Regions from separate parts of the Homo sapiens genome. Here region 1 is linked to region 2. The links are contacts of gene promoters, found by promoter capture Hi-C in blood cells and fetal thymus (Javierre and others, 2016). All regions are on one chromosome and are shown on one strand. Each heading gives the region's core, a stretch centred on a gene start or on the middle of the fragment in contact. The rest is flanking DNA. Distances are from core to core; before and after follow the strand shown. Region 1 overlaps LOC105373883 (a long non-coding RNA gene). Region 2 holds the start of ZNF142 (zinc finger protein 142).

What was found. Contacts are between HindIII fragments. The CHiCAGO score rates a contact against its expected background, and 5 or more counts as called.
Region 1: a fragment that was not itself captured here is called in contact with the fragment with the promoter of ZNF142 in region 2 in 1 of 17 cell types (total B cells); the score reaches 5.7 in total B cells.

Annotation. Positions count from the first base shown.
Region 1 is chr2:219,361,685-219,365,255 of GRCh38, reverse strand. LOC105373883 (a long non-coding RNA gene) reads left to right here. Exons shown (of 2, transcript XR_923917.3): 2 at 2,448-2,754. Among named protein-coding and RNA genes, the nearest start is that of DNPEP, 24 kb to the left of the region's middle. RefSeq lists an enhancer at 2,644-2,693. The HindIII fragment of the contact is 1,677 bases long and covers 1,081-2,757 here.
Region 2 is chr2:218,657,173-218,660,872 of GRCh38, reverse strand. It overlaps ZNF142 (zinc finger protein 142), which reads left to right and starts at 1,250. Exons shown (of 11, transcript NM_001379659.1): 1 at 1,250-1,504; 2 at 1,743-1,893; 3 at 1,997-2,172. It overlaps BCS1L (BCS1 ubiquinol-cytochrome c reductase complex chaperone), which reads right to left and starts at 1,190. Exons shown (of 8, transcript NM_001079866.2): 1 at 1,130-1,190. RefSeq lists enhancers at 1,067-1,196, 2,007-2,126. The HindIII fragment of the contact is 10,571 bases long and covers 1-2,141 here.

The DNA of each region.
Region 1 (3,571 bases), core at 670-3,169, 700 kb before region 2:
GGAATGGAGCCATCTTGGCTTACTGCAACCTCCGCCTCCTGAGTTCAAGTGATTCTCCTGCCTCAGCCTCCTGAGTAGCTGGGATTACAGGTGTGTACCACCACGCCCAGCTAATTTTTGTATTTTTAGTAGAGGCGGAGTTTCACCATGTTGGTCAGGCTGGTCTTGAACTCCTGACCTTGTGATCAACCTGCCTCGGCCTCCCAAAGTGCTAGGATTACAGGCGTGAGCCACTGTACCTGGCTTTTTTTTTTTTTAATCTATATAAACAAGGTCTCACTCTGCTGCCCAGACTGGATTGCAGTGGTGTGAACACAGCTCACTGCAGCCTTGAACTTCTAAGCTCAAGGGATTCACCTGCCTCAGCCTCCCAACTAGCTGGGATTACAGGCGCCTGCCACCACGCCAGTCTAATTTTTTGTATTTTTAGTAGAGGCGGGGTTTCACCATGTTGGCCAGGCTTATCTTGAACTCCTGACCTCAAGTGATCCACCCACCTCGGCCTCCCAAAGTGCGGGGATTACAGGCGTGAGCCCCTAAGCCCGGCCTACTTTTTAAACTTTTTGTAAAGACCAAGTCTCAGTATGTTGTCCAAGCTGGTTTCAAACTCCTGGGCGCAAGTAATGCTCCTGTCTCAGCCTCCCAAAGCACTGGGATTAGGGGTGTGAGCCACTGCGCCCAGCCTGCCAACAATCTTAAAACTAATTTTATTTACCCAAAAGACTTAACAAGGCCCATGTGTTCAGATTCCTGTCTGTGTCCCCATCTTTGGAGGAAGGACACCTTTCACATGGGGAAAGGATCAGGGAGATCCCTTCAGGAGAGAAGGATCAGGGAAGTCAGAGAGATTGTCCTGCACATGCTGTTTCTCAGATCCTTCCAGCTTAAAATATTCAACATGCCAGTGTGCCATGTTTCTGGGTGGCATGTCCTGAACCCTCTTATTGGATAGTATAAATGGCTATTCACTCTGAAAATCTGTTGAGCTGTATCTTTACATTCTGTCTACTTCTGTTCATATGTATTACCTTTCATAATCAAAAGGTAAAAATACTTTTTTTAAAAAAAAGCATAAAAGCTTCTAAACACAAAAGTTGGTGTCAGAAATATTCTAAATGGAAAGAGGAAAAGAGTGGCTCCTAAGATGACTGGATTATTAGAAGTAAAGAAATGCCCTCCCTTCTTGCCCAATAAACTCCAGAAGCTCCCAGAGTGGCCCTAGGCGAGAAGAGATGAGAGGGAGGGTCAGCCGTGCTCTCCAGGGAAATCCCCTTGTTTTCCCCAGGCCAGCCCCAAAGGGGCACTAGTCTACACTGAACTCTCAACTTCCAGGCAATAGAGACCACCCTTTCTCTGCTGCTTTATTTGACAGCTTAGGAAAGACTGAAATGTTCAAACAAAAATGAACAACAACAGAAAGCCTTGACAAAGGAAAGCCAGATGCAGAGGACCATGGATCCACATATCCTAAATGCAAGGGAGAGCCTGCTCTCCAGGCTCCAGAGCCTTCCACTCATGGGCTACCCCAGGAATAATAGGGACTCCTCCCTGAGTCTCCCCACTCCTGACTCCAGGCTTTCCTCCCACAGCAGGTGACATTCCTAAGTTTGTATGCATGTGCCAGCACACATTTATATATACAAGTGCAATATGTACATAGTAATGCACACACATATTCTCAAACCTACACACATACACCTCACACACATACATAAACGTAACATATATACACCTACACACACATAAACAGACACATGCGGACTTACACATGGACATCTATACAGAAACACACACATGTAAGCATACATGCACACACACAACACAGGTGCACATGCACATACAATGTTTGCAAACATATACAGCCACAGGCATAGACACACATATACACCTGGATACATATACAAACCCATCACACATGCATACATATGCTCATTCACATACTACAAATACATACAAAAAGGCATACACATATATGCACACATGCACAACATACAAACACAGAGACATGCATGTAGGCATAATACATGCATGCATACTCGTGCGCAAAAAACACACATGTGCAATACACAGATACATATACATAAATGCATGCATACACATATGCAGACAATACATAGATACATGTCACACAAACATATTGCTATATATCCATATATACATATGCAAAAACATACACATATATACACAAACACACACATCTTTATGTACACACCCACAAACACACACCCCACATACCCACACGCACATACTGCATGTGATAGCCATCCTACAAGATGACCTCCAGTGATCCTTACCTCTTGGAATTCATGCCTTTGTGTAGTCCCTCCCACAGTGTATCAGGGTTGGTCTCTGTGGCCAGTATAATATGGCAGAAATGATGGCATGGGACTTCCAAAGCTAGGTTTTAAAAACACTGTGGCTTTTGCCTGGTTCTCTCTCTCTCTCAGGTCACTCACTCCAGAGGAAGCCAGCTGCTGTGTCATGAGGCACTCAAGCAGCCATATGGAGAGGCTGATGTGGTAGGGAACTGAGACCTCCTGCCAACAGCCAGCATCGTCTTGCCAGGAGGGTGAGTCATCTTGAAAGTGGATCCTCTAGCCCCACGCAAGCCTTCAGAAGACTACAGCCAACCCTGAGTAACATCTTCACTGCAACTTCAAGAGAGACCCTGAACCAAAAATACCCAGCTAAGCCTCTCTCAGATTCCCAGTCCACAGAAACTGTGAAATAGATGTTTATAGTTTAAGCGACTAAGCTTTGGGGTAATTTGTCATGTAGCAATAAGCCATAGATATTCTTTGCTAAAACTGGATTTTTAAAAAAAGTAATAGACAATGAATACAAGTACACTACATGTACACATATACACATTGACACACACATCCCATCTACATACACAAATACATCTCCCACACATACAAACCTACATACGCACACACAAACACACATGCATACAGTACACATTGATTCATACAAACACATGCACACACATATAAACACATGGACACAACACCCATGCACAAACATATAAACACATGTATACACATATAAACACATGTACGCATGCGCAAGTCCCGAGAACCCACTTCTAGAGTCTTTGGGCTCTTCACCATCTAGATGCCCACCTGGGGCTCCCCATAGAGCTCTGACCCATCTCGGAGGAGCTGCCTCTTCTCTCTCTTTTTTTTTTTTTTTTTGAGATGGAGTTTTGCTCTGTCACCCAGGCTGGAATGCAGTGGCACAATCTCTGCTCACTGCAACCTCTGCCTCCCGGGTTCAAGCAATTCTTCTGCCTCAGCCTCCAGAGTAGCTGGGACTACAGGCACATGCCACCATGGCCAGCTAATTTTTGTACTTTTAGTAGAGACGGGGTTTCACCATGTTGGCCAGGCTGGTCTTGAACTCCTGACCTTGTGATCTACCCGCCTCGGCCTCCCAAAGTGCTGGGATTACAGGCGTGAGCCACCGTGCCTGGCCTGAGGAGCTGCCTCTTCTCTAGGAGATTCCCACCAGAGGTGATCCTGTCCTTGAGGGAAGACCTTGTTTCCCGACAAAGGGTGGTGGCCTGAGT
Region 2 (3,700 bases), core at 1-2,500:
CCACAGGTCAGCATTACTGTGTGGGTCAATACCCTCCTTTTGTGGGGTAAGGGTGGTATTGGAATGCAAGGGTGGAGGCTCCAGGTCCCTCATCCCATTTTGTCCTTCATTAGTCTACTCATACCTGTTTCCTACCAGAGGACCATGTCTGGAGATGCCTTAAACCAAAAAGAGCTATATAAACAGGCTTCACATCAGGGTAATGGATGGACAGGATTTTTGTGGTCCCTGGGACCAGCTATGATAAAAAGGGGTCCATTGGCTGCAGTCAGCAAGGGAGAAGCGTCCGTTGACTTGTCAGTAACCCTATGTCTTGTTATGAGTAATGTCCTTCAAATATCCTCCCCCTTACGTCCCCAATATTTAACGTCTTGTTTAGACCTTTATTACCTCCCACCTAAACTGTCTTTAAAATCGTAGTTCTTGAAATGGCATTTTAATAGGTCTTCACCTCCTGCTTCACGGAACATCTACACAAGGGTCCAGATCTTTCATCATAGGGATCAGCTCCAATACCATATCTCTCTCTGCTCCAGCACCTTCAATGGCTGGCTCCCAGCAGACCCCTGAATTGGGTATAAACTCAGCCTGGTACTCAAGGCTCTCTACAATACGGCGCCCACCTACCTTTCATGGATTAGCTCCTAACACTACCTGTTTAGCAAATATGCAAATACGCAACAAATATGTTCAACAAGTAAGCAACCTCCCAACTCCTTGCTCATGCAGTGCTCTTGGCTCGGAATGCCCGTTCTTTTCTCCCTCATTCTCCCCAAATGAAAATCTGCCCATCTGCTACTTTCTCCACGGATCGTCACATCGTAGACAATAAGATCCTGAGGGACAAGAGCAAAGTTGTTTCTAGTACACCTCTCCTCCAACCCCGAACCCCGGCCACTTTGCCCTGCGCCTGGCATGCAGGGAGGTGAGCTGACAGCAGTGACCTCGGCTGAGCCTCAGAACTGGGATCCAGAATTCCAAAACACCTATGCATGGAAGGCCACAGACAAAGCTCTCCCGTCCCCGGCCCCTCCGCGACACCCAGGAACCCCCTCCTGAACCTCGCCCACACCCCAGCTCGCGCCTCCAGCCACATGGTTTGGGGTAACCCGTCACTCAGCCCTCTCACCGCCGTGACTCTCTGGCCCTCCGTCTCGATGGTTTCACCGCGCCTGCACCTTGGGGAAGCTGCGTTCGGCCCCGCCCCGGGTCCTTTCATCTACTTCCCGCCACACCCACAGAGAAGCCCACGCCACTCTACCCCAGAGCTCTCGATGGTGCTTCTCCGGCTTCAGGGCTGGAGTGGGGGTGGAGGGCGGGAAAAACCACAGAGACAAAACATAGAGTACCCCGGCAGCCGGCAAGAGGAAGAGAGAGTGGCTTCCACATCCCCAATATCCTAGAGGCGGCTGAGCCGGAGGCGGTCGCACAAAGCGGGCCCCGGGGGCCGTTCCAGCCGCGGCCGACCATAGAGATGCGGCTCCCGCCGGCTCTGGGTCTGGAGGTGAGTGAGCGGCTGCGGGGCGGAACTGGGAAGGGAATGCGGGTGGAGCGAGCTGGAGGCAAAGTTTTTCGAGCCCCGGGATCAGGGTGGGCCTGGGCGCTGGGAACTCTCGGAAGGAGGTACTGAAGGGAGCACCCAGACGAGCTGGGCCCCGGCGCTGCAGTCGCGTCACGGTTCTGGACCCCGCCCGGGTACCTGCTGCTCTCAGGACAAAATCATGACGATGCTCCATCCCAAGCCTTCCAGGTTACAAACCGCCTTTCCAGTTCGCTGGCTCTTATGATCCAGCTCCTGCCCGACGATGTGGACACTGTCATCACCTCCATTTTACAGATAGGAAAGCTGAGGCCCAGAGAAGCGAAGCGACTGTGTCTGTCCAAGACCACGCGGTGAGTCAGAGCCAGAGGCAGGTGGGAACCTGGGTCGCTAGGCCGGGGCCCGTTGTTTCTCCAGGCCTTCTCTCTGCCTTAGTCTGTCCTTTCTCTTCCTCAGCCCTCCTGCCCGGAAGATAAGCGTATTTCTTCTCTGGTGCCCACCTGTCTCCTACCTCACCCTGCCCTCCCGCAGGTGAAGGTTCTTAATCTTGACGGCTCAGCGTCCTCCTTGGCTCCCCCCGGAGGCCATGTATGGTCAAGCTTGAAGATTCCCCAGAACAGCGATAATATTCAGTAAGTGGAGGCTGCAGTTTCCAGAGAATCCCTCTGACCACGGGAGTGCACTTTCCAGCCACCTTGTGAATCCCTGTGATCTGTTGTTTTGAGTCCATGGGATTCTGGAAATAGGGACTATCAGATTGCAGGATCTTGGTTTTTGTTTGTTTTTTTTTTGAGACGGAGTTTCGCTCTTGTTGCCCAAGCTGGGGTGCAATGGTGCGATCTCGGCTCACTGCAACCTCCGCCTCCCGGGTTCCAGCGATTCTCCTGCCTCAGCCTCCCGAGTAGCTGGGATTACAGGCGTGTGCCACCACACCCTGCTGATTTTTTGTATTTTTAGTAGAAACAGGGTTTCACAATGTTCGCCAGGCTGGTCTCGAACTTCTGACCTCAGGTGATCGGCCCGCCTTGGCCTCCCAAAGTGCTGGGATTACAGGCCTGAGCCACCGCGCCCGGCCTGGTTTCTTCTTCTTTTTTTCTTTTTGCATCTTGTCTGTGACTCAATTTCATGAAGTGATTCCCATCATTCTTATTAATTACTAATTATTCAGCTTAAACTCATTTTAGCCATGTATAACAGGGTATGCAATTCAATTGTCATTCATTCCTCAGTTATGTTCCCATATTTAGTTTGAGGCCATAGTCAGTTAATGAGTTTGAAATTTCTCCAAATGTGTTACGTTATAGGTGAGGAACCACTGGTTTTGTACAAGATACCTAGCTTTACTCCAATGCAGCTCCATATCTGTGGTTCTTCACTGGAATCTTCGATTGTGGGTGATTTGTGTTCGTTGAAGTGATAATGTCAGTATCACAAAGTAATATCATTGAAGTGATAATGTCAACAAATTACTAAAAAAGCTATACATCTAGGGAGAGAGACTGACAGGTAAACAACAGTGCAGTGTGACCTCGTTTCTGATAGGGCTGTGTACAGAGTGCCCTTAGGACGCCAGAAGAGAGAAGATAAGAGTTTCGGGAAGCCAGGCCCGGCGCGGTGCCTCACGCCTGTAATCCCAGCACTTTGGGAGGCCGAGGCAGGTGGATCACCTGAGTTCTGGAGTTCAAGACCAGCCCAACCAACATGGAGAAACCCCATCTCTACTAAAAATACAAAATAGTAGCCAGGCGTGGTGGTACATGCCTGTAATCCCAGCTACTCAGGAGGCTGAGGCAGGAGAATCGCTTGAACCCAGGAGGCAGAGGTTGTAGTGAGCTGAGATCGTGCCACTGCCCTCCAGCCTAGGTGACAGACTAAGACTGTCTCAAAAAAAAGAATGTCAGGAGGCCTTCATGGTGGAAGTGACATTTGTGCAGCTTCTTCAAGGATAGTTAATTGGTTAGCCAGATAAGAGAGAGAGATTGAGAAGGGGAAAAGGCATATCAAGCCAAGAGACGCAAAAGGCTGTGAGGGTATGAAAGCAAAAGAGAATGTGGTGGGTCTGGAGAATGGCACATCATCTGGTTCAGAGATCTGCTGAGGGGAGAAGTGGGAGATGAGTCAGGGGAGGTCAGCAGGAGCCAGATGATGAAGGAAGGGCCT